7 separate regions of the Homo sapiens genome follow, and all the other regions are linked to region 1. Evidence: promoter capture Hi-C in 16 types of primary human blood cells and fetal thymus (Javierre and others, 2016). All regions are on one chromosome and are shown on one strand. Each heading gives the region's core, a stretch centred on a gene start or on the middle of the fragment in contact. The rest is flanking DNA. Distances are from core to core; before and after follow the strand shown.

Evidence for each region. The method cuts DNA at HindIII sites, captures the fragments that hold promoters and counts their contacts. A CHiCAGO score of 5 or more calls a contact.
Region 2: a fragment that was not itself captured here is called in contact with the fragment with the promoter of CD48 in region 1 in 2 of 17 cell types (activated CD4 T cells and non-activated CD4 T cells); the score reaches 6.2 in activated CD4 T cells.
Region 3: the fragment with the promoter of ITLN2 here is called in contact with the fragment with the promoter of CD48 in region 1 in 13 of 17 cell types (total B cells, naive B cells, M2 macrophages and 10 more); the score reaches 12.9 in total B cells.
Region 4: a contact is called between a fragment that was not itself captured here and the fragment with the promoter of CD48 in region 1, in 3 of 17 cell types (naive CD8 T cells, total CD8 T cells and activated CD4 T cells). The highest score is 5.6, in naive CD8 T cells.
Region 5: a fragment that was not itself captured here is called in contact with the fragment with the promoter of CD48 in region 1 in 7 of 17 cell types (naive B cells, erythroblasts, endothelial precursors and 4 more); the score reaches 8.7 in naive B cells.
Region 6: a contact is called between a fragment that was not itself captured here and the fragment with the promoter of CD48 in region 1, in 5 of 17 cell types (fetal thymus, total CD8 T cells, naive CD8 T cells and 2 more). The highest score is 8.4, in fetal thymus.
Region 7: a fragment that was not itself captured here is called in contact with the fragment with the promoter of CD48 in region 1 in 2 of 17 cell types (naive CD8 T cells and non-activated CD4 T cells); the score reaches 5.6 in naive CD8 T cells.

What each region holds. Positions count from the first base shown.
Region 1 is chr1:160,710,220-160,713,710 of GRCh38, forward strand. It overlaps CD48 (CD48 molecule), which reads right to left and starts at 1,603. Exons shown (of 4, transcript NM_001778.4): 1 at 1,463-1,603. The coding sequence starts at 1,544. RefSeq lists enhancers at 1,852-2,031, 2,572-2,631. The HindIII fragment of the contact is 2,140 bases long and covers 978-3,117 here.
Region 2 is chr1:160,459,676-160,463,166 of GRCh38, forward strand. No RefSeq gene overlaps it. Among named protein-coding and RNA genes, the nearest start is that of VANGL2, 61 kb to the left of the region's middle. The HindIII fragment of the contact is 3,940 bases long and covers 1-3,491 here.
Region 3 is chr1:160,953,176-160,956,666 of GRCh38, forward strand. ITLN2 (intelectin 2) reads right to left here and starts at 1,634. Exons shown (of 8, transcript NM_080878.3): 1 at 1,552-1,634; 2 at 1,212-1,275. The coding sequence starts at 1,566. The HindIII fragment of the contact is 24,751 bases long and covers 1-3,491 here.
Region 4 is chr1:160,480,662-160,484,152 of GRCh38, forward strand. No RefSeq gene overlaps it. Among named protein-coding and RNA genes, the nearest start is that of SLAMF6, 41 kb to the right of the region's middle. The HindIII fragment of the contact is 480 bases long and covers 1,701-2,180 here.
Region 5 is chr1:160,929,541-160,932,507 of GRCh38, forward strand. It overlaps LOC124904441 (a long non-coding RNA gene), which reads right to left. Exons shown (of 2, transcript XR_007066689.1): 2 at 2,106-2,637. It overlaps LOC101928372 (a long non-coding RNA gene), which reads left to right and starts at 2,925. Exons shown (of 6, transcript NR_110695.1): 1 at 2,925-2,967. The HindIII fragment of the contact is 1,228 bases long and covers 1,069-2,296 here.
Region 6 is chr1:160,540,283-160,543,773 of GRCh38, forward strand. CD84 (CD84 molecule) reads right to left here. Exons shown (of 7, transcript NM_003874.4): 7 at 816-3,491. The region is part of intron 1 of CD84-AS1 (CD84 antisense RNA 1); the gene reads left to right. Among named protein-coding and RNA genes, the nearest start is that of CD84-AS1, 4.9 kb to the left of the region's middle. RefSeq lists an enhancer at 1-211. The HindIII fragment of the contact is 3,114 bases long and covers 428-3,491 here.
Region 7 is chr1:160,562,543-160,566,033 of GRCh38, forward strand. It overlaps CD84 (CD84 molecule), which reads right to left. Exons shown (of 7, transcript NM_003874.4): 2 at 2,862-3,203. The region is part of intron 1 of CD84-AS1 (CD84 antisense RNA 1); the gene reads left to right. Among named protein-coding and RNA genes, the nearest start is that of CD84, 15 kb to the right of the region's middle. The HindIII fragment of the contact is 5,530 bases long and covers 1-3,491 here.

The DNA.
Region 1 (3,491 bases), core at 353-2,852:
TAGGAGAATTTCTTAATCTCTCTGCAAGACAGTATTCTCATCTGAAAAATGTAGATAATAATAGCCACCTCACTATTTTCTAATGAAAGTTAAATGAAAAAGTATGCAAAAGGCCTAGCACAATGTCTGACACACAGTAAGTGCTTAATTTGTATTTTACTAACCCAGGTTATAGCCCGGGTGTTATAACCCAGGTTTACTAACCTCATCAAAACCAATATTATCCATTCAAAGGATAACATAATCAGGTGTGGTCTGATTGTTTCAAAGAAGAATAAATGACCAAGATGAAGCCTAGAAAAGAAGTCAGAGAAAGGTCAACTGTCAGGATGTTTTCAGTATGCCTAGAGAAAGTCCTAAAATATTCCAATTCTCATTGGCAACCCTGCTTTTCCCAATAGTTAGATGAATACTTCACATCAGCCCCCAATCCCAAGGTCATACCAATGTCCTATGCATTGAGTCAGGCCCACAGAACCTATATAGCCGTAGACTCACACAGTCATGAACCAAAGGACTCTACCTGAGAGGTAGAATATGTGAGAGACCGATCCTCCACACATTCTACCTCATCTCCCCAAAAGTTACAAACTATCATCATTTTATGCCACAGTGTGACTACCACATGTTTGTTGATTTTTACTGTTTTACTCAGAGTGGTGAGCATTAAAGCCCTTTAAATTAAAAAGACTTGAGTATTTACTTGGGGGAATAGCAAGAAAGTCAAAGGTTTCACTGCTGTTTCTCAGCTGGCATAAGAAGAGAGGTACTGGATGAAGAAAGAGGGTGAGGCAGCTCTAACAGGAGAAGGAAAGTTAGCTCAGCCCTTGGTCACACACCGGGGACCGAACAGGCTGTGGCAGAGGAATGGACCTTAACTCTTAGCAATCAGATGTGTTAAGGTTCCTTTGATGCTGAAGCACTTCCAGCCTCTTCTCAGACCCTCATTCAGAGACCCCAGACAGCAATCCTTTCCAAGCTTTTCTTCCTATAATTTTGATCTATCTTTTCTTTGGGTCAATGACAATATCATTTACCTTGGCTCAGGATGCAACACCTCACATATACAGAGGTCTCAAAGAATGCCTAAGGGAGTACAGTGTGTCTGAGCATAAAATGCAGCAGCTGTCAGTGTAGAGCTTCTTCTTATTCAAAATGAAAAAACAAACACTTTTCCACAACTTCATGGACCACCAACCACGGGACAAAATATGAGGAGCCTACTTCTCTTGCTCCCCAGGTTCCTGTTTTGATCACATCCCCGTGGGAAAGGAGATGAAGCTCCATTCATCAGTGCTAAGAAAGGCTCCCCAACCATGCCATGGCCATGCTATTGGAATGGAAATACCTGCTTTCCAGACACCAGATCTGGCTTCTAGGGTTGAACTACATCCCGTCTCCCCTTTCCCAACTGACCATGCCTTCAGTGCACAATCACAGATACACAGTTGGTGGAAAGTACCTTGAATGCTGGTCACCAGGAGTGACAGAGGCAGCAGTAGCAATTCCAGAGCCAGACACGAATCCCAACCTCTGGAGCACATGCTTCCTTCCAGAACTTCCCAGCAACGCAGGAGACAGTTGAGAGCCTGGCTAGAAAAAGGCCGGGGCTAAAAACGGAACTTACCAAACAGGGTTAGAGAGAAAAAAAAAAAAACCACTGAGATTTTCTCTCCACCCAGCACACTTGTGTGGGGCCCCAGAAACCAGAAACCGGAGGTCTTGTAAATTTTTTTATCTAAGAGCATCACGGAAACTGAGAACAATTTTGTTTGAAGGTACATGAGTGCTTTTTTGTAGGGGGAAGATTCATAGCTTCTACTGTACTCTCAGGGGGGCCAGTACTCAGAAAAGAATAAGGGACCCTGATAGAGAATGTCTGCTTTTCGTTCCCAGGCAGGAATCCCTCTGATTAATTCAGGGGCTAAGACATAGGAGCTTCCCAGTCAAGCCTGGGTAGGTGTCATTCAGAGCCTGAAGTCTGGGAAATCAGACCCACGTAGCCTTTGTGCTGCATATCTTACCCCCAGCACCACCCTCTGCTCTTCTTCCTTTATGATAATTCACTATTTGAAGTTTGACATCAGCCTATCCACTGAACATCAGAAAAAAAGTAAGATTACTTGGCCCAAAAGAATGGATTTCCCACCCTTGTAGTCTGTATTAGTCTGTTCTCACACTGCTAATAAAGACATACCCCAGACTGGGTAATTTATAAAGGAAAGAGAGGGGTTTTGTTTTGTTTTGTTTGTTTTGGTTTTTTTTTTTTTTGAGATGCAGTCTCACTCTGTAGCCCAGACTGGAGTGCAGCAGTGCAATCTCAGCTCACTGCAACCTCCACCTGACAGGTTCAAGCAACTCTCCTGCCTCAGCCTCCTACATAGCTGGGATTACAGGCAAGCACCACCATGCCCAGCTAATTTTTGTATTTTTAGTAGGGTTTCACCATGTTGGCCCGGCTGGTCTTGAACTCCTGACCTCAAGTGATCCACCTGCCTCAGCCTCCCAAAGTGCTGGGATTATAGGCATGGGCCTGTGCCTGGCCAGGAAAGTGGTTAAATTGACTTCTAGTTCAGCATGGCTTGGGAAGCCTCAGGAAACCTACAATCATGGTGCAAGGGGAAGCCAATACGTCCTTCTTCACACGGTGGCAGGAAAGAGAAGCACTGAGCAGCAATGGGGAAAGCCCCTTCCTTATGAAACCATCAGATCTAGTGAGAACTCACTATCACGAGAACAGCATGATGGTAACTGCTCGTATGATTAACTTACTTCCTACTGGGTTGCTCCCATGATATGTGGGGATTATGGGAACTACAATTCAAGATGAGATTTGGAAGGGAACACAGCCAAATCATATCATGTCTAGGAAATTTCAAGCTCATTCCTATTGAATGTAAATTAGTTATTTGCCCACCCAGGACCCACAGGCAAGCCACAGTTCCTGATATAACATATTTGTAATCACTTTTTAATTGGGGACATTTCTGATTCTCAACATGGAGATGAACAATAAAATGTCTGCTCTTCTCAGTCCTCAAACCTGAAGGACATTATGTTAAGTGAAATAAGTCATGCACAGAAAGATAAAAAACCACGTTCCCAATCATATATGGAAGCTTAAAAAATGAGCTCATAGAAGTAGAGAGTAAAATTGTGGTTATCAGAGGCTGGGAAGGGTAGAGGGAAGTGGAGGATGGGAAGAAGTTGGTTAATAGATACAAAGTTACAGCTAGAGAAGAGGAATAAGTTCCAGCATCCTGTAGCACTATGGAGTGAATACAGTTAAGAATAATTTAATGTATATGTTCAAAAAGCTAGAAGAGAGGATTTGGAATGTTCCCAACACAAAGAAATGATCAATGTTTGAGGTGATAGGTATCCTAATTGCTTTGATTTGATCATCACACATTGAATACATGTATCAAAATATTACTCTGTATCCCATAAATATGTATAATTATTATATGTCAACTAAAAATAAAAGGGAA
Region 2 (3,491 bases), core at 577-3,076, 250 kb before region 1:
CTCACGTAATCGTTTAGGTATATTGGTCCCATTTTACACATGGGAAAACAGGCTTAGAGAGGTCAAGTGATTTGTTCAAGGTCTCATGGTAAGTGGCAGAAAAATCTAAACCCAGATTTTTTCTGACTCCAAAGTTAGTGCTCGTTCCACTTTGAAACTGTTAATTGATTACCAGAGTCCTGAGTCTTTTGGTTAATGCTCTGAGTTGGCATGGGGAGTCTTGTTCAAGCACTGGTACCTCTGACTCACGACTGTGTTCTTAGTCCATTCACCTCTGCACCTAAATTTTCCTTTATGTAAGTGTGTCACATAAGAATAATAATAATACTTTTTTTCCCTGCTTCCCAACAGAACTGTGTTGATAATGAGGTTTGAAGGTGGGTGGGTAGGAAAAATTTGTTAGAACTAAAAATGTTTAAACACCCACTACTATATGCCAGGCAGGCTCTGTGATAGGCTTTTTACAGACACTATTTAATTTAATCAAAGTTGACTAAAAAATATTTAGCAACTGGTCCAGCGCAGTTGCTGGCCAATCACAATGATGCTGGCTACTGACTGTCAAACTGTGCCAGGGAGACTGCTGGAAGAGGGGGTGCAAAGCACACAGGGCCAGCCAGCCAGCCAGCAAGGAGTGGCCAGCGTTACTCTCAGAGCGCCCCACGACAAAGTTCCTGCTCTTTTTAGTTATTTGAACACTTCAGAAGAAAGCAGCCACACCAAGGATAGCTATTATTATTCTCAGAGGTAGTTACTCAGAAGTTATTTGGATAAGGGTAAACAAGGCTAAGAAGTTTCATTTTTAGGGTTCCGCTTTCAAAGGAACACCGTTTTGCTCCTTTCTCTTATTTGTCTCTTTCTCATGCTGCTGGTGGACCAATGTCAAAATCTTGTGCTCAAAACCTTACTTCCTGTCCTTGTAGTAGCAATTCCCAATGGAGAAACATTTAAAGCACTGAAAGCAACACTCAAAAGAAGGAAAGAAAGGATAGAAAGGGAGGCGTGGGGGAAGATCATGAGGAAGGAAGGAAAAAAGAAGGAAAGAGAAATAAAATCAAAGAAGGAAGAAACAGTTCAGACCAGTTTGCAGATTTAGAAGTCATTTCTGGCTCCCTAACAGTTTTCATCCTCAGAGTGCTTTCAGGCCACCAACATGTTCACGCAATACTGGGCCGTGATCATCATGACCCAGGAGGGGAGGTAAGAGTGAAAGGTGGAGTCGACATTTACTGTGGAAAAACCAAGGACAAACAGGAAGAATTAAAACAGGAAATGACTCATGAACAATGGAAGGGGTGCTCCCCTCACTTTTATTATCCCCCTCAGAGAGAAAGAGTTTCCACTAGCTTTGTTTTTGGGAGTTTTTCTTCAACAACAACTCTAACTCTAACCCTCCTAACCCCCTTCTTTGAGGGAGACTCAGTTTTTCCAAAGTTGCAACACACTTCTCTACCCTCTTCTTTCACCCCAGCTTCTCATGAGGCATCTTAACACTGAATATTGTGTTCAATATATGCTTTTGAAGAAAACAGAGGAAAACGCAAAGATTAGTAAATGGATTATTTGAAAAAAACCATGGCAGCTGTTTCAAATTTTAGGGATGTTGGTAAAACTCATCTGAGAAGTAGAAGGCTATTGGGTTTAGACAAACTCCTTAACGGGCCACTTTGTTCAGATCTAGGCCCCATAGCATGTTCTGAAAAGAGATATACTGTGAGTAAAAATAGTTTAAATTGGTCTGTGTACTGGAGTCTGGAGTGACAGGTGTGTTTCAGTTTTTTCCTGGAAGAGTGGGGGAGTTTTGTGCTGGTAAACGTTTAACAATCACCTCTCCAATAACAACAACAACCAAACAATACAAAGTACTCTAAAACTCTGATTTGTAGCACTTGTCCATTTCTGTGGTAGCATTTCCATCAAGTCACTGAGTTAGGAAAAGATGTGCACCATTATATAGTGTTTCCTCTATGTGTGTGCAGTAGATGTAAATCCTCTCAAGAGCATAGAATAGTAAAGGATAGTAAAATAATTAAGAAGTGATGCATTTGAGTACTTACTACCCTTTTAAAAATATATAATTTATTTAAATATCAGCATTTAGTTACTGACGGGATGCTTAACAGCTAACTTGCAGAAATCCTGAAATTTTAGCTATTGACTCATGTGACTAGATTTGGGGGTCTGGAACCTGGAGAAAAGGAGAGTGAGACCCAGTAGGCTCCCGGGAAGGGTACATGCTGGGGCCTAAGGAAAATAGTACCCAAAGAGAAAGTTCCTGTGCAGGGATGACCAAAGGAATTTGAGGACAGTGATTTAAATAACTTTTATTTATTTATTTGTTTGTTTATTTTTGAGATGGAATCTCACTCTGTTACCCAGGCTGGAGTGCAATGGCGCTATCTCGGATCTCTGCAGCCTCCACCTCCTGGATTCAAGTGATTCTCCTGCCTCAGCCTCCCGAGTAGCTGGGATTACAGGCACGTGCTACAATGCCTAGCTAATTTTTGTATTTTTAGTAGAGATGGGGGTCTCACCATGTTGGCCAGGCTGGTCTTGAACTCCTGACCTCAGGAGATCCACCTGCCTTGGCGTCCCAATGTGCTGGGATTACAGGCGTGAGCCACCACGCCCAGCCAATAACTCAATTTTAATCTGTTTCCTAGTCTGTCCTCTGCTGTAGTCTCCTGCCCTTATCCTCAAATCGTCAGGCTTGTGTTGGTGTTCTTTTGATGGCTGGGTCCATGCTTCTGATGAAGCAGCATGGAGAGAAACATGGTTCTAGAAAGTGAGGTGATAACAGGGACTGGAAATTATATGGGAGCAGCAACATGGATGAGAGGCTACCAGCAGAATATAAGCACTGCTCCCTTCCCACCCATCCAGCAATCCTCACAGATGGAGGTCTCCAACTGGGTGTGGGAAGGTGCGGGAGGTATTTTATTTAAATGTTGAAGGAAAGGGTGACCTCAGAAGGCTAGAAGACCTAGAAACATTTTGTTTAAATATTTAATATTAAAAATGGTTTAAATGACTAAGAGTGACCCAAAGAGATAAGGTTTGATTATTTCATTTGGATATTGGACAAATGAAGAGTGGTTCTAGTCACTTTTCCATCCCCATTCCTCCCTTGGCAACAGGGCTGGTATGGCAATATGTACAAAAACTGAGCCCAAAAGTTGTGCCTGTAAAATTATTACAGAAATTGCCCCGGACTTCCAGAAATTGTAGACATTCAGATTCCCTGGCCAGGAGAAACAGTAAGTAAATAAGAGCGTATCTGCTAAGGTGGCCACCACCATTCCTTTGTCCTAAAGCTCTGTAGGAGAAGTCCTTGGGTGGTCTTTCAGAGCCTACCAACTCTTATTCATATAGAATCCAGGTTATTGTATTCTCACACCACAGAAAAAAGGAAACAGCTGGTTACAAAGTACTGGCATTATAAGAGACAGACTCTATGACAAAAGAAGTAACTACTGTTGTCCTGATAGGGA
Region 3 (3,491 bases), core at 384-2,883, 240 kb after region 1:
CCCCAGGAAGAGAAGAAAGCACATGAGATGGCCTGAAGCAATAACAGAGCCCAGCCCAGCCCAGCCTGCCAAAAACTACAGGTCAGTCGCTTATTGTGGCTGGAACATATGTTGTAATACAAAGAAGTCTGGAAACCAAAGCTGAAAAATTAACAGAGGCCAGTGGATGAAGGGCCATGTATATAAGTCTAAAAGCCTAGAAATCATTCCAAAAGCCTGGCAGAGCGGGAAAAAGTGTAAAATTACAGGACTCAGGCCAGGCACAGTGGCTCATGCCGGTAATCCCAGCACTTTCGGAGGCCGAGGAGGGTGGATCACAAGATCAGGAGTTCAAGAACAGCCTGGTCAATATGGTGAAACCCCATCTCTACTAAAAATACAAAAATTAGCTGGGGTGTGGTGGTGCACACCTGTAATCCCAGCTACTGGGGAGGCTGAGGCAGGAGAAGCTCTTTAACCCAGGAGACGGAGGTTGCAGTGAGCCGACATCACGCCACCGCACTCCAACCTGGGCAACAGAGCAAGACTCCGTCTAAAAAAAAAAAAATTACAGGACTCAAGGTAAAATCCAGACAAACCCTGATGACAGTGCCTCCTTGAGCAGACACTTAACATCTCTGATCCTTTTTCTTCATCTTTAAGATGTCATTAATAACTTCTTTATACGCATGGAGATCAAATGAGATGACATATGTAAATGTGCTTTTTTTAACTGATGGATTGAAATAAACAATAAACCCAGTATCAATGAAAAAATATCACTATTGTGCCTACTGGAAGAATAGAATTGTGAGGATTCTATTCTCACAATATCCTCCTCTGCGACTAGAGGAGGGTGTACCCTGGACACAGCACTGATCACCCAGCTGCCTCTGGAGATCCCAAGGCCAAGGCCACAAGAGCAGCTGAGCAGGGACACAGTTCTTACTCTCTCACCCCATGAACCCCTCACAGCCACAGAAGCAGAGAATCAAGCCCTAGGAAATACCTGAGCTAACACCCTGACTGCTTCAGACCAGACCCCAGGAGAGGCCAGAAATCAGCACCCAGTCCACACCTCAAGTTGGCTGCCTAGCCTGGGTTCCCTGCCTCTCCAGAACTTCCCCTTTGACCCTTGACTTCAGAGCCCTGCCCAGCTCTACTCCCTCCAGGCCCTGCACAGCAGAGGGGAGCCCAGGAAACTGCAGCTCCTACTCTCAGAAGCCATTTACCTGCACTGCACCCACTGGTGGCCACAGAGAAGAATAACAGGAAGCAGAGTCTGGTCATTGTCCTCTAAGGAAAAACAAGATGCACAAGGTCACTGGCTGGCCCTTCCTTTGTCATCCTCTCGTTCTTACTTCCTAACCTTTCTGAGTCAGGAATCCTCAAATGGAAAGTGATGGGCTCATGAGCATTCTAAAACCTCCTGGAATATGCCCCACGGCTGTCCAACACTACAAATACCCAAGGGGCCATGGGCTCATTTCCCTGAAACTCTAAATCTCTAAAACTGAGACCTGAGCTGGCATCATTGCTCCCACACACATGGATCAAAAACATTTTTCTCACCAGCATGGACAGCATCCTTACAGATGCCAGGAGCTGATAGTTCCCTTCCTGTGGACACTCGGAGCTCCCCTGCAGAGGATCCTGATGAAGGGTGAAGTGCTGGTCCCTTTATGTGGAGAGCTGTGGAGAGCCAAACCACCTGAGCCCTGCCCAGCCCAACCCTGAGCAGCCTAGGCTGCTAGCCCCTCCCTCTGAAGCCCTTCCCTCTGAGGGTACCTGAGCCTGGGACCGTGGAAATGAGAAAGGACGTGCGACTGGCTGGAGGAGCAGGGAGCTGTGTTCCTGGCCACACAGGTGACTGTCGCCATCTGAGGAGGGGCATCCTGCTTTGCCAAGGCAGGCCATACAATGTAGCAGTATCTAATCAGATTCGTGGATAGGTCACAATCCTCCCCTGCGTTCTCCCTCTCCCACCTCCCCCAGATGCCCTGGCCCCCTAGACACAACTCTGTCAAGAAATCATCCTTTTAGACTGAGGTGACACCTCATGAAAAATAAATTAATTAATTAAGAATAATAATTGGCCAGGCACAGTGGCTCACACCTATAATCATAGCGCTTTGGGAGGCCGAGGTGGGCGGATTACCTGAGGTCAGGAGTTCAAGACCAGCCAACATGGTGCAACCCTGTCTCTACTAAAAATACAAAAATTTAGCTGGGTGCAGTGGCGTGCACCCGTAATCCCAGCTACTCTGGAGGCTGAGACAGGAGAACTGCTTGAACCCAGGAGGTGGAGGTTGCAGTGAGCCAAGACTGCTCCACTGCACTCCAGCCTGGGCAACAGAGCAAGACTTCACCTCAAAATAATAATAATAATAATAATAATAAATAAATGGGAAAAGAAGACATCATCCTTCCAATCTTTCCTCCAATTTCTCTATGAGGCCTTCCCTGACACCCCCATCACCAGACAAAGCTGATGGATCCTTCCTTTGTCCCACTATACACTGTCCAAACACTAATTATTGCATGTATCCTGCTGTAATTTTATTGTTTTATTAACTCTGTTTAGAAACAATTTGAAATTTATTAAATGTTGCAAAAATAACAATAATATAAAGCCACATATATGCCCTTTACCTAGATTCAACTATTGTTAATATTTCACCCCATTTGCTTTATCTTTCGTGTTCTCTCTCTCTCTCTCTATATATATATAGATATATGTATATAAAATACACCCACACACACAAAATTTTTTTCTGAACCATTTGAAGGTAAGGTACATACATCATGGGCTTTTACCTTTAAATAAATGCGTATGGGTTTTTTTTATTTTGTTTTGTTTTTTGACACAGAGCCTCACTCTGTCACCCAGGTTGGAGTGCAATGGCATGGTCTCAGCTTACTGCAACCCCCGCCTCCCAGGTTCAAGTGATTCTCCTGTCTCAGCCTCCCGAGTAACTGGGATTACAGGCACCCACCACCACGCCCAGCTAATTTTTGTATTTTTAGTAGATACGGGGTTTTGCCATCTTGGCCAGGCTGGTCTTGAACTCGTGACCTCGTGATCCACCTGCCTCGGCCTCCCAAGTGCTGGGATTATAGGTGTAAGCCACCATGCCTGGCCAACTGTGTGTTTTCTAATAATAGGAATATGTCATGTATAACCACAGTACAATTATCAACATCATATTATTAAAAACTCTTTTTTTGGGCTGGGCGCGGTGGCTCACGCCTGTAATCCCAGCACTTTGGGAGGCCGAGGTGGGTGGATCATCTGAGGTCAAAAGATCGAGACCAGCCTGACCAACATGGAGAAACCCGGTCTCTACTAAAAATACAAAATTAGCCGGTCGTGGTGGTGCATGCCTGTAATCCCAGCTACTCAGGAGGCTGAGGCAGGAGAATCACCTGAATCCAGGAGGCGGAGGTTGCAGTGAGCCGAGATCACACCATTGCACTCCAGCCTGGGCAACAAGAGTGAAACTCCATCTCAA
Region 4 (3,491 bases), core at 691-3,190, 230 kb before region 1:
AAGTTTTGTGTTAGAGGAGTACCCAGCCGTGTGAGGTGTCAGTCTGCCCCTACTGGGGGAGTGCCTCCCAGTTAGGCTACTCAGGGGTCAGGGACCCACTTGAGGAGGCAGTCTGCCTGTTTTCAGATCACACGCTGCATGCTGGGAGAACCACTATTCTCTTCAAAGCTGTCAGACAGGGACATTTAAGTCTGCAGAGGTTACTGCTGCCTTTTGTTTGTCTGTGCCATGCCCCCAGAGGTGGAGCCTACAGAGGCAGGCAGGCCTTTTTGAGCTGTGGTGGGCTCCACCCAGTTCGAGCTTCCTGGCTGCTTTGTTTACTTACTCAAGCCTCGGCAATGGTGGGCACACCTCCCCCAGCCTTACTGCCACCTTGCAGTTTGATCTCAGACTGCTGTGATAGCAATGAGTGAGGCTCTGTGGGCGTAGGACCGTCCAAACCATGTGTGGGATATAATCTCCTGGTGTGCGGTTTGTTAAGCCCGTTGGAAAAGTGCAGTATTAGGGTGGGAGTGACCCGATTTTCCAGGTGCCGTCTGTCACCCCTTTCTTTGACTAGGAAAGGGAATTCCCTGACCCCTTGTACTTCCTGGGTGAGGCCATGCCTCGCCCTGCTTTGGCTCATGCACGGTGCGCTGCACCCACTGTCCTGCACCCACTGTCCAGCACTACCCAGTGAGATGAACCCGGTACCTCAGTTGGAAATGCAGAAATCACCTGTCTTCTGCATTGCTCACGCTGTGAGCTGTAGACTGGAGCTGTTCCTATTCGGCCATCTTGGCTGCCCCTCTATTTCCTCCTGTGTCTTAAATTGCCATGAATTCACCTTGTGTTTTAAGTTGCCATGAATTCACCTTGTGTTTTGGATTGTTGTTGGATCCTGAGAGGGATGTTCTACTTTCCTTGGGTCATTAGAAGTCAAAGGGAGAATGAAAAACAGAATTTAAGGTGATTACGAGACATCCAGGAAAATATCCAGTCAGCAGAACCTAGGGAAACAAATCTAATTATGGGACATAAATAATAAGAGAAACCAAGCTAAGGAGAGGTAAGGAGGAGACAGAAAGACAAAAGTAGGATGAGGTGACTTAATGGGCATTAAAAGGAGGGAAACCTCAAGGGTGATGGGGGGATTGTGTAATGTCAAATGCTGCAGAGAGCACCAGAATGCAGAGAAAAGATCCCTGCCTCTAGAGGTTGGTATCCTTCAAGAATGCAGCTTCAGAAGAGTGGGCTAGGGGTGAGGAAGCAAAAGCTTTGGATGTGGCCATTCTAGTCGTCTGGTAGTAAAAGGTCAGTGATGATGTCCCCTTCCTTTCTTCCCACAGAGAGTGCTTTTAGATGGCCTCTGGGAAGGGGAAATTCAGGGGGTCAGACTTGCTCCCTCCCCATTTGAGAAGTCACTTCTTAGTCCATTCTTTTCATCAACTTGAAACTCAGGGTGAAATGTCTATCCAGTGACCTTGGACAGGGTAGCCTTCTCTCTGTTCTGCATCTAGCTGTGGCCCTGCTTCCTCATATCAAAGTATACACTGAACCCTGAGGGAGGCTAAATGATGAAAGCTTCAAGTAAGTGTCCTAAAGCTACACGGGGTTCAGGTGTTGGCTTGAGGGTGGGATGGGGTGTGGACAAGTGAGATCAGACATTGTTATTTTGGGACTAGTTAATGTGCTCTTTTGACCAACATGATGTGGGGCAAAGCTTCATGGTGTAGGTAAGAGGTTGGAAACTTAACTATTTTCAGTACTAGGTAGGTATCTTAAGTGAGTGAAGCAGGCAGGGCAGGCCAGGAGTGAAATGTGAAGTGCAAGCCCCATTTAGAATAGAACAGAGGCTACTCAGCACCAGCTAATTGTTGCCTCATAGGGATGTGGTCCCAGTATCCATAAGGCACAGAAGTAGGAAGGAGAGTCTAGATTATTCTAGGAGCTGAATAAAGAACAGTGTGGCTGGAATGCTGTGAAAGAAGGAGTAGAGATGTGAGTAGGGGTCTTGTAGGCCTTGTCAACACTTTGTGACCTCCTAGTGGGAATGACTGGGGGCTGGCAGAGTGGGAAGAGTATTTCTATTCCCTTTTATTACCTTTCCAGGATAGCCAATCACAGCCATCTTACCTTATTCAAAGTAGTTTAATGGGGCTACCATTTCCTTAATTCTACAATAAAAATATTAAAGAACAAGCTTACCTCCTGGGCAAAGAAAGTTTGTTTTTTGGTAGGAATTTTATAAGCATTGCATGTTTTCTTCCCTGCTTGCAAAATGCATGATTCATCTTTTAGGAATGGGGCATCTGGGTCTTAATGTATTTAACTTTAGAACAATAGATTAGGTTTTTGTTGATTAAATCCATTTGTTTCCCACAAGAAAACAAAAATGATTAGTTATATGGTGAGTACTGGGTAGTTTTCAGTTTTGTAAAGGAGATCTGTTCAAGAGTGTCCCATAACAATGATACCATTTACTGATATGAAAAAGCATAGTAGAAGAAAAGGCTTGATAAGAGAAATCAAGAGGTTTGATTTTTTTTTTTTGACAGAGTCTCACTCTGTTGCCCAGGCTGGAGTGCAGTGGCATGATCTTGGCTCACTGCAACCTCCGCCTCCTGGTTTCAAGTGATTCTCCTGCCTCAGCCTCCTGAGTACCTGGGATTACAGGCACCCAACATCACACCCGGCTAATTTTTGTATTTTTAGTAGAGACCGGGTTTCACCATGTTGGCCAGACTGGTCTCGAACTCCTGACTTCAAGTGAGCCACCTGCCTCGGCCTCCCAAAGTGCTGGGATTACAGGCATGAGCCACCACATCTGCCCAAGAGTTTTTATTTTTTAAAAAACTTTGATATATCTACCAGATATGCAAATGGTGATGCCAAGTAGGCAGTTAATGAGGTAAGCCAGGAGGTCAGGACTAAAGATGTGTTTGGGAACCATTAGCTTATAAAGGCTATTAAGGCAATAGGAATGGCTGACATCAGATAAGAAGAGTACTTAGATGGAGAAGTGAATGGGACCCACATGTGAGCCTTAGCTTCAGTCTTTACTGGTCCTGTGGAGGAGGCAGTGGATCTGCAAAGAGCCTGAGAAGCAGCTAGGAAGGAAGGAGTAAAACTCGGGGAATGTAGTGTCACAGAAGCCAAGAGAAGAGAGTGTGGTATTTATGATAAAAAGGGAGAAGGTTGAAGAGATTGAAAGAAATATAACATCAGGAATTCTATGTTTTAGTAGCTGGTCTATAAAGACAAGTGAGCTTAGCTTTCTTATGAGTTCTTTTCTTACTCACCTCTTAGATGTCTATAGATACGCCCTTAGTTTTTGTTTTGTTTGTGATCCTCCCCAGTGCAGTCCAGATTCAGGGTAGATTCTGGTAGATTTCTGACTAGATGGATTAGTTGTGCCTTCCATGACATATCCCCTAATTTTCTTGCTGGTTTTGGGCACCCTAGATGTTGCAAATATTTTTCTATCTGCACTGACTTTACAGATTATTCCT
Region 5 (2,967 bases), core at 433-2,932, 220 kb after region 1:
TGAGTCGAGATCACGCCACTGCACTCCAGCCTGGGTGACAGAGCGAGACTCTGTCCAAAAAAAAAAAAAGCTATCACTTAAAAATAGCAGCAAGTGAATGAGTAAGTCAGCCTCACCTTCAAAATAGTCTAACCTGACCACCATTCACAATCCTACTGCTTTCATCCTCTTCTAAGCCACTAGCATCCCCTGGCTGGCTGCAAGTCTCCTCATTGGTCTCTCTGCTTCTGCTCTTGGCAGTCTTCAGTATATCCTCAACACAGCCAAAGTCATCCTGTTAAATCAGGCTACCCTCCTACTCAGACCTCTCTGAAGGCTTCTAGTCTTGCCCAGAAGGCCCACAATATCCTACACAATCTGCTCCCATCTTACCTTTGTGCTGTCATGACCTGCTGCTTTCCTCCATACTTATGCAGCTTCTGCTAGCCAAATCTCCCTGCAGCTCCCTGAACGCAGTGAAGATACTCCCATCTCAATACCTTGGCAGTTGCTATTCCCTCTGCCTGGTACTTTATGGCTCAATCCCTCACCTTCTTCAGATCCTTCCTCAATGTCACCTTCTCACTGAAGTCTTCTTTAAAGATCTATTAAAGTTGTAAACCACCACCACCCCCAATATATCTATGTCGCTACTCAACTTTCTTTTTCTCCATAGCACTTTTCAAACTTAACATTCTAGTCTGGGTGTGGTGGCTCATGCCTGTAATCCCAGCACTTTGGGAGGCTGAAGCGGGGGGATCATTTGAGCCCAGGAGTTCAAGAACAGCTGGGCAACATAAGGAGACCTGGTTTAAAAAAATAAAAATAAATAAATAAATAAAAACTTGACATTCTATTATTTATTTTTATAGCATATTGTATATTTCCTGGTACTAGGGTACAATCTCCAGAAAGGCAGAAATGTGTACCTGACTTGTTGCTATATCCCCAGCATCTAGAATATGTTCTGGCACATAATAGGCTCGCAATTAATGCTTTTAAAAGAAATAAACACACAAATTTGTGATTAGAAAACATTCATGAAGCCTGCTGTTAGTTCTAGAGCAGCCACTAAAAGGATAGAAAAAAAGCTTACAATTTTAAAACTAGTAGAGAGAAAAAAACAATGACACAATTGTGTCAGTTTCCTAGGGTTGCCATAACAAATTGTCACAACCTAGGTGGCTTTTTAAGAAATTACTCTATTTCAGAGGTGAGAAGTCCAAAATTAAGGCATCAGCAGGACTGTGCTCTGTCCAAAGACTCTGCAGGAGGATCTTCTCTTGCCTCATCCAGCTTCAGGTAGAAAGCAATCCTTGGGTTTTTTGTTTGTTTGCTTTTGGTTTTGATAGAAATGGAGTTTCACTGTATTTTTTGCCCAGGCTGGTCTCAAACTCCTGGGCTCAAGCAATCATCCCACCTCAGCCTCCCAAAGTACTGGGATTACAGGTATGAGGCACCATGCCTGGCCAATCCTTGGTATTTATTGATTTGTGGCCACATAACTCCCTTCTCTGCCTCCGTCTTCATACAGCTGCCTTCCATCTGTGTGTGTTTCTGCATCTGTGTCTCTTCTCTTCTTATAAGGATATTAGTTATATTGGAATTAGGGCCCACCCTAATCCACTATAACTGCATTTTAAATAGTTGCATCTGCAAAAATCTCATTTCCAAATAAGGTCACATTCACAGGTACCTTGGATTAGGACTTTAACATACCACTTTAGGGAACACAGTTCAACTCACAATAGCAATCATCAGTCTTGGTCTTGAATTATGTCTATATTCATACAGAATGCTCAGCAATGCTATGATCTGAACATTTATGTCCTCTCAAATTCATATGTAGGTTTGTTAATATCCTGTTTAGAATTGTTGCATATACAGTCATGAGGGTGGTTGGCTTATAATTATCTTTTCTTGTGATACTCTTGTGAGATTTTCATATCAAGGTTATGCTGGATACATTGTTAGAGGAGCAGCCCACAAGACCACCCTCACTTCTGACACCGATTGCAAGGTTGGGGTCCCCCAATATCCTCCTCCTCTCTGACATTAATTGTCAGCTTGGGGGGACCCCAAGACCACCCGTGAGTTTAATAATTCACAAGACAAACTCACAGTGCTCATGGAAAGTTACGGTTTATTGCAGCTAAGAATACAGGTTAAAATCAGCCAAGGGAAGGGGTACATAGGGCAGAGTTCAGGAAAGCTCTAAACACAGAACTCCCAGTTGTCCTTTCCATGAGTTGTGGACAGTGTTAATTTCCTGACATCCAGTGTGTGATAATACTCGCAGAATATTGTCAACCAGGGAAGCTTACTCAGGCCAGTTTATTAGGCTCAATCACATAAATCTGGTCAGCTGCCCTCAGTCTCCTAGCCCTTGCAAAGTTTGAGCTGATACCACTGTTCTGGTGTGGGGTTTTCATGAGGTTGCAGTCACATGGTGGCTGGGGTTGGGATAATCTTTAAGACTCTTTCTCTAACATGTCCGATCCCTGGGTGGGCAGACTGAAACAGCTACAGAAAGAAGCATATATGGCTTCTTGGGCATCTTTCTACTTCTATATGATCTTTTCACATGGTCTCTCCAGCATAGCAGCTTCAGGATAGTGGACTTCTCACTTAATAAATCAGGATCCGAAGGCACAAGTCCTAAGAAAGAGAAAGCCAGGAAGAAGCTGTATCATTTTTTAGGATGCAGTCTCAGAGGTCACACTTCTGCCATATTCTTTTCATGAAAACTTAGTCACTAAGCCCGCCCAAATTTGGTGGGGTGGGGGGAATTACCAAAGAATTGGCAGGCTATATGCAGAATATGCCATATCAGTGAATTTTCTATGTCAGAATGATCTTTCCAAGGTGAAAAACAATACTGGGTCAGGGTTGGTCTCTGGATTTTGAAAGCAACACATATAACATGTGAGCCTGCTGCTTTCATCTAGGCCAATTTTAAGTGGGGCACAAAGCAAGAAAAGCCTCCAC
Region 6 (3,491 bases), core at 735-3,234, 170 kb before region 1:
TCTGCAAACGCTGGCTCAGAACAGAGCAGCTGTGGCCTCTGATAAGCAGGGAATAGAGGAAGTGGTTTTGTCTCAGGCCTAAAAACCATTTGCTATCTCACAGCGCCTGTTAGTAAGTCACCTCCCCTTCAGTGTTTACCAAACATTCAGAGGCCCTGCACCTACAGTTCTGTGGAAACCACAACCTCATTCTCCTCAGTTAAAAGCCCAGTCTTTTTATCCCTTTCCTCCAAGTGGCACTATGGGTGACACAGAGAATTTCTACTCTCCAATTTGGGACTCGGACTCTGAATGTGGTTTCCAGGACTCTCTTTCCTCTTCTGATATGTGGGTGCCAATCCAAATTCAGTTCAACAAATACTTACTAAGCTCTGCTAGGCATTGGCTCCTGTGATAGGGCACTGTGAGTGAAAAATGAATAAGACAAAGCTTCTTCCCTGGAGGGAGATGACCCCCAAAACGTGATTTAAGTCCTCAATTTCCTCTCTCTAGGTTGACCAAGGCAGAACTCTCTTCTCCACCTTAACCAAGCACCTCTGCTGCCCTCCGGGTTTTTTCTGTTTCTGGCATTTGTCCTTCCTGTCTCTAGCTTCTCAGTCTCCTCTCAAGGTCCCAATCATCTCTCTACATCAGCTTTTCTTTTTTTCTTTGTCTGTCTTATACCCTCAATCCCTTGGTCTCTTGTGTCCACTCAGGGCCTGGGTTTTCAGACAGCACAGGGCTTTTATCATGTGGACTGTCTCCTTTGCTGTTTCATCTGTTTACTTCATTTTTGTTGCTCTCAAAAACCAAAACAAAGTAAAACACAAAATAGATGCATTATAAAATAATATTTATTGTGTCCTGCTGAAATGGAGCTTGTAGTCTCATTTCTTAGGCACTTACAAGGTAAAATTTATGAACCATACTTTATTAATGGGCATTTACAAATGCCTGAAATAAAAGGTGACTTGTAGAAGGGATAATATATCTTATTGCAAACATGACACCTAGCTTCTGGAATACGGTTAGTGGCATTTGCCACTAGTGAGCATAATTTCCATGTTCAAATGAATAATGAACTAATCAAAAAACCTTTTTTTGAGGAACTGAGGCACTCAGACACAAAACACAAAATTAGGCACTCAGACAAAAAGCAACTTATTAGCCAGTTGGAGAGAGAGCTAAGAAATACCATATCTATATAATTATCAGAGAATGTGATAAAAAGCTACTACTCTGTACTTGTGTGCCAAATGCTGTAAAAGTATAAATAGAGGGCAATATATTTCGCTTTGGACGGGAGGTTTTAGAAGGCCGCACAAGAGGGATATTCAGTCTGATGCTTGATGTAGACAGAAGGGAGAGAAGGGCATCCCAGACAACATGGGCAAAGGCATGGGAGGATTTGGTGGGTGTGTGGGCCCATGATAATTCTGTGTGGCTGGAGCCTTAGGGAGCAGGCAGGAGACAGCCTGGAAGGTCTGATGGGTCAGATTGCTAAGGAGTGTGGTTCCCCAGGAAAAACATTTTAGTGTGGAAGTGAAGTGATAAGATCCTCATTTTAGAAAGATTGCTCTTTATGTAATAGCAACCCAGGTAACACGTGATAAAGCAATGATCTGAGGGAGTGAGCATGTAGAGGGAAGGTGTATTAGAGAATTAGGCCAATTAAGGGCACATGCCTGAGAGGAGCCATATAGAGAAGTTGGAATTGACAGGACCTATTCTCTGACTAGATGTAGAGGGGATCTGGGGTGACAGGGAGAATGAAGGAGCCAAGGATGAAAAAGTTTTCTGCCTTGGGTAGCTGCTGATTGGTGAAGCAGTGAAGAATAGCAGTTCTGCACCCAGCCCCTGGAGTTGAATCCTGGCTTTTCTATTTACTAGGATGAGCTACTGTGATTCAGCCTTAAAGACTTCACCTTTCTGTGACCCAGTTTCCTACTTTGTAAAAGAGAGCATGGTTGTATCTTCTTCAGAAGGCAGATGAGATTTAATGTTTCTTATGGACTTTAAATGAGTAAATGTAAAACAGGACAGGGAATAGTACATAGTAGGCACTGGATAAATGTTAATTATTTTGATTATGGTGGATCATTAGCATAGGAAAAACACAAGGAAAGCAAGTTGGGAGGTCAGAAACAGACCTGTGAGTTAGATTTTGGACACGCTAAACTTGAGGTGACTTCTGACATCTATGCAGAGATGACCCATAAACTATTGGAAATACAAGTTGTAAATGAAAGAGTTGAGATTATGAGCATTTAAAAATTCTCTGATGAATAATCTATGTAATTATTTGCCTACAATAAGAACTTATAAGAAAAATATTTCTCATTTGCAAAGATTTGGCCATTTTCCAGTCTCAGAATTGATCCATCCCAAACCCAGAGACTTGTACAGGGCTGTTGAGAACTGTCTGGGCAATCAGCCAGCAACAGTTAATAATTATCATCCATTCCTTTATGAATTCCCAAAGTCTGCAAGTCTCTAGAGAATGTATTAGTCATTACTTTCCTCCCTCAAGTCAGAATTCAGGACTTTTTTAATGGTCCTTTGTCGAAATGTATTAACACTTTCATATGTTTTGAAAAATTACTGGACCCCTCACACTTGGATGGGGGCTTATTTAAGTCTAAACATGCACAGTTGTTTTTTTTAACCACTAAATTGTTCAGCACAATTCCCCAAATTCTTATCTCTTCTTTTGTTTCTGTTATTTTTGTGATTTTTAGTAGTGGAAATTTACAGTTTCTCTTATTTTATATTAACTCATCAGAATGTTTATGACCTGAAACCCCTGCCTGTCCAAAATGCATATAGAGAGCTCTATCCAACCTTCTTTAATTAAATGGGCATTTTCAGCAGGAAAGTTGAGTGGTTATCCAGATAGCAATGGAATTAATATATTAATATATTTACTTTGAGCTGCTTTTAGTACCTTAAAATATTACTATATGCAAATATTCATTTAGTAGATATTTGTGGTCCACCTATTATGTGTCAAGCAAAGTGCCAGGTGTGTGTACACCTAAGGCCAAGTACCAGGTAGGGAGAATCCACAGGAGGTAAAAAAGGGCCACATGGCAGAGTACAAGTGCATGGCCCTTGGTGACAAGAAGTCTTGAATTCAAATACTGTCTTCCCAGCTTTCCAGATTTGCCAAGGTATTCATATGTCAGCCTTAGTGTTAACTGGAAGAATTAATTTCTACTTTACAAGGCTGTCATGAGTATTGACAACAATGTATGAAGCATCTAGTTTAGCAGTTGGTATACAAAATAAGCCCTCAATGATTCTTACAGGCTCCCTATCTTCAAGGAGCTCTCCATTATTATTTATTATTATTATTATTATTATTATTATTTAGGTATATCCCCTGTTCTCTCAGTCTAACTGGGGAGGCAGATATAGCATCAGGTAAGTAGACTGTGGTATAATAACGAGGGGAACAAACATTGCTTATAACAAAATATATCTGAATAAGGAGGGATGAGAGTTAAAAGTTT
Region 7 (3,491 bases), core at 278-2,777, 150 kb before region 1:
TCCCTTATACCTTAAACAAAAATTAATTCAAGGTGAATTAAAGACTTAAATGTAAAGCCCCAAAGTATAAAAACCCTATAAGAAAATCTGGGCAATACCATTCAGGACATAGGCACGGGCACAGATTTCATGATGAAAATGTCAAAAGCAATTGCAACAAAAGCAAAAATTGACAAATGGGATCTGATTAAACTAAAGAGCTTCTGCACAGCAAAAGAAACTATCATCAGAGTGAACAAACAACCTACAGAATGGGAGAAAATTTTTCCAGTCTATCCATCTGACAAAGGTCTAATATCCAGAGTCCACAAGGAACTTAAACAAACGTTTAAGGAAAAAACAAACAGAAAAAAAACCACACACAGCCCCATTAAAAACTGGGCAAAAACCATGAACAGACACTTCTCAAAAGAAGACATTCATGCAGCCAACAAACATGTGAAAAAAAGCTAAACATCACTGATCATTAGAAAAATGCAAATCAAAACCACAATGAGATACCATCTCCTGCCCGTCAGAATGGCAATTATTAATAAAGTCAAGAAACAACAGATGCTGGCAAGATTGCAGGGAAAAAGAAATGCTTTTACAATGTTGGTGGGAGTGTAAATTAGTTAATTCCAACCATTGTGGAAGACAGTGTGGCCATTCCTCAGAAACCTAGAGGCAGAAATACCATTTGTTCCAGCAAACCCATTATTGGGTGTATACCCCAAAGAATATAAATCATTCTATTATAAAGATACTTGCACATGTATGTTCATTGCAGCACTATTCACAATAGCTAAGATATGGAATCAACCCAAATGCCCATCAATGATAGATTGGATAAAGAAAATGTGGTACATATATGCCATGGAATACTATGCAGCCATAAAAAGGAACAAGATCATGTCCTTTTCAGGGACATGGATGGAGTTGGAAGCCATTACCCTCAGCAAACTAATGCAGGAACAGAAAACCGAACACCACATGTTCTCACTTATAAGTGGGAGATGAATGATGAGAACACATGGAGGGGAACAACACACACTGGGACCTGTTGGAGAGGGGTTGGGGGAGAGAGAGGATCAGGAAGGTTAGCTAATGGATGTTGGTCTTAATACCTAGATGATGGAATGATCTGTGCAGCAAACCACCATGGCACACATTTACCTATGTAACAAACTTTGACATCCTGCACATGTACCCCTGAACTTAAAATAAACATTGAAGAAAAAAAAGAAAATTATTGAGATATTTTATATATTTTTTTGGTGCTAAGATTTCAAGATCTGGTATGAATTTTACACTTACAGCACATCTCAATTTGGACTCACCACATTTCAGATGCTCAAGAGCTGCATGTGTCTAGAGGCTACCATAGTGAATAGGGCAGCACTAGGTCCGTACTTTCTCAAACTTTGGCACAGGTGGGAATAATCCAGAGATAACATTAAACACAGATTCCTGGACTTCATTCATTCACAAAGGTCAGGGGGAGGACCTGAACATTCGCATTTCCAAAAAGCTCCCAGTTGATGCTGATACTGCCAGTCTACAGACCACACTTGGGGTAGCTTGCAAAACAAAGCACGCACATCTCCCAGTGAATTGTGGCAATTATAATGATGATAACAAATAGTTATAATATTTTACCTTTCAAAAGCACTTTGCATTAACTACTAGAAATTCAAATTAAAACTAAATTGAGTTATCACTGCACACCCATCAGAATGGCCAAAATGAAAAATAATAACACCAAATGCTAGTGAGGATGTAGAGAAACTGGATCACTCATACATTCCTGGTGAGAATGGAAAGTTGAAAATAGTTTATCAGTTTCTTTTAAAGCTGTAAATGCCCTTATCATAAAATTACATTCTTGAGCATTTATCCCAGAGAAATAAAAACTTATTTCATGCAGAAATGTGTACACATATATTCACAGCAGCTTTATTTGTAATAGCCCCAAACTGGAAAGAACTAAAATGTTCCTCAAGAGGTGAATGGTTAAACAACCTAGTGCATCCATACCGTGGAATACTATCTAGCAATAAAAAGGTATAAACTATTAGTACACACAAGAGTTTGGATGAATCTCAGTGACATTACGCTAAGTGAAAAATACCCAACCTCAAAAAGATACGTCCTTCATTATTCCATCTACATAACATGTGTGAAATGACATAGTTGTAGATGTGAACAAACTGGTTGTTTTTCAGGGACTGGGGAAGGGAAAGATGGAGATGTGGCTATAAAGGGAGAGTATGAGGGAATCTTGTGATGGTTAATCTTGATTATGGTAGTGGTTACACAAAACTACCCATGTGATTAAATTGTACAGAGCTACACACATACTCACACATAAATGAATGCATGCATACGTGGTGAAACCTAAATAAGCTCTATAGATTGTGCTAATGTCAATTTCCTGTTTTTGATATTGTGCTATAGTTATGCAAGGTGTTAACACAGGGTGAAGGGTACATAGAACCTCCCTGTATATTTATTTGTACCTTCTTTGCATCTATCATGATCTCAAAATGAAAAGTTTTTTTAAAGCACTTTGCATACACTATCTCATTTGATCCTCATGATAACCCTGGGAAGTGAGTAGTATGATCATTGACATTATGTAAAAAAGAAAACCAAGGCCCAGGGGACCAACTACTGATGGAAGAATTACATAGCTAAAAACAGGCAAAGTCAGGACTGAAATAAGACTACATCCTCTTATAAGTATTGATGTATCAATATGTAAGTATTTATAGATATAAAAAGATTTAGGGGACCCAATTATCAGAAATGTAGATGTGTTTCAGATAGCAAACTTGCAAAGTAAAAATAAAACACAAGCTCTCCGTCTTCCCATGACTTACGATAGATTTGCAGGTTGTAGCGCTTGGTGGTGGTGTAGGGATCAGCCTGTGTATTTATGTCTGCTTTGTAGTCTCCTGCGTCTTCCATCCTCAGATCGCTAATGACCAGATTGTAGTTCGGACCTAAGGCATGTATCCGTTCATAATAATTTCTGTGGGTCACAGTAACTACGGGTGCTGTTTCTGAGTCTCCTGGTGTTACATAAGCAACAGATGTTTTAGAAGTCCAAGCAATGATTTTAACTTGCCGTGGTTCTTGGATATTTACAGGGAAAGTGACTGACTCTCCCAGAATCCCATTCACTGTGAAGATTTCTGAGTCTTTTCCAGCTGCTTCCGGCCCTGAGAACATAAAAAGAAAACTGTAGCCATCTGACTGTTGCAGCTTTTTCACTTCCTAATCTTTTTGGCCTTGGAGCTCCCTGAGGAGCTGCCACAAATGCAGTTCACCCAGTTTCTTGAGGATGCCTTTTTTTTTTTTTGGCATTCTACTCTAGGTGTATTTAATATGTTATGACAACTAAATTTTCTAACGCATTCTCATTCAAAAACTAAGTTTCTCACTAGAGATCCATTTTGTTAAAAATATTTTTACCTAGACTTACAGACTCTGAAAGCTAGAAGGCATTT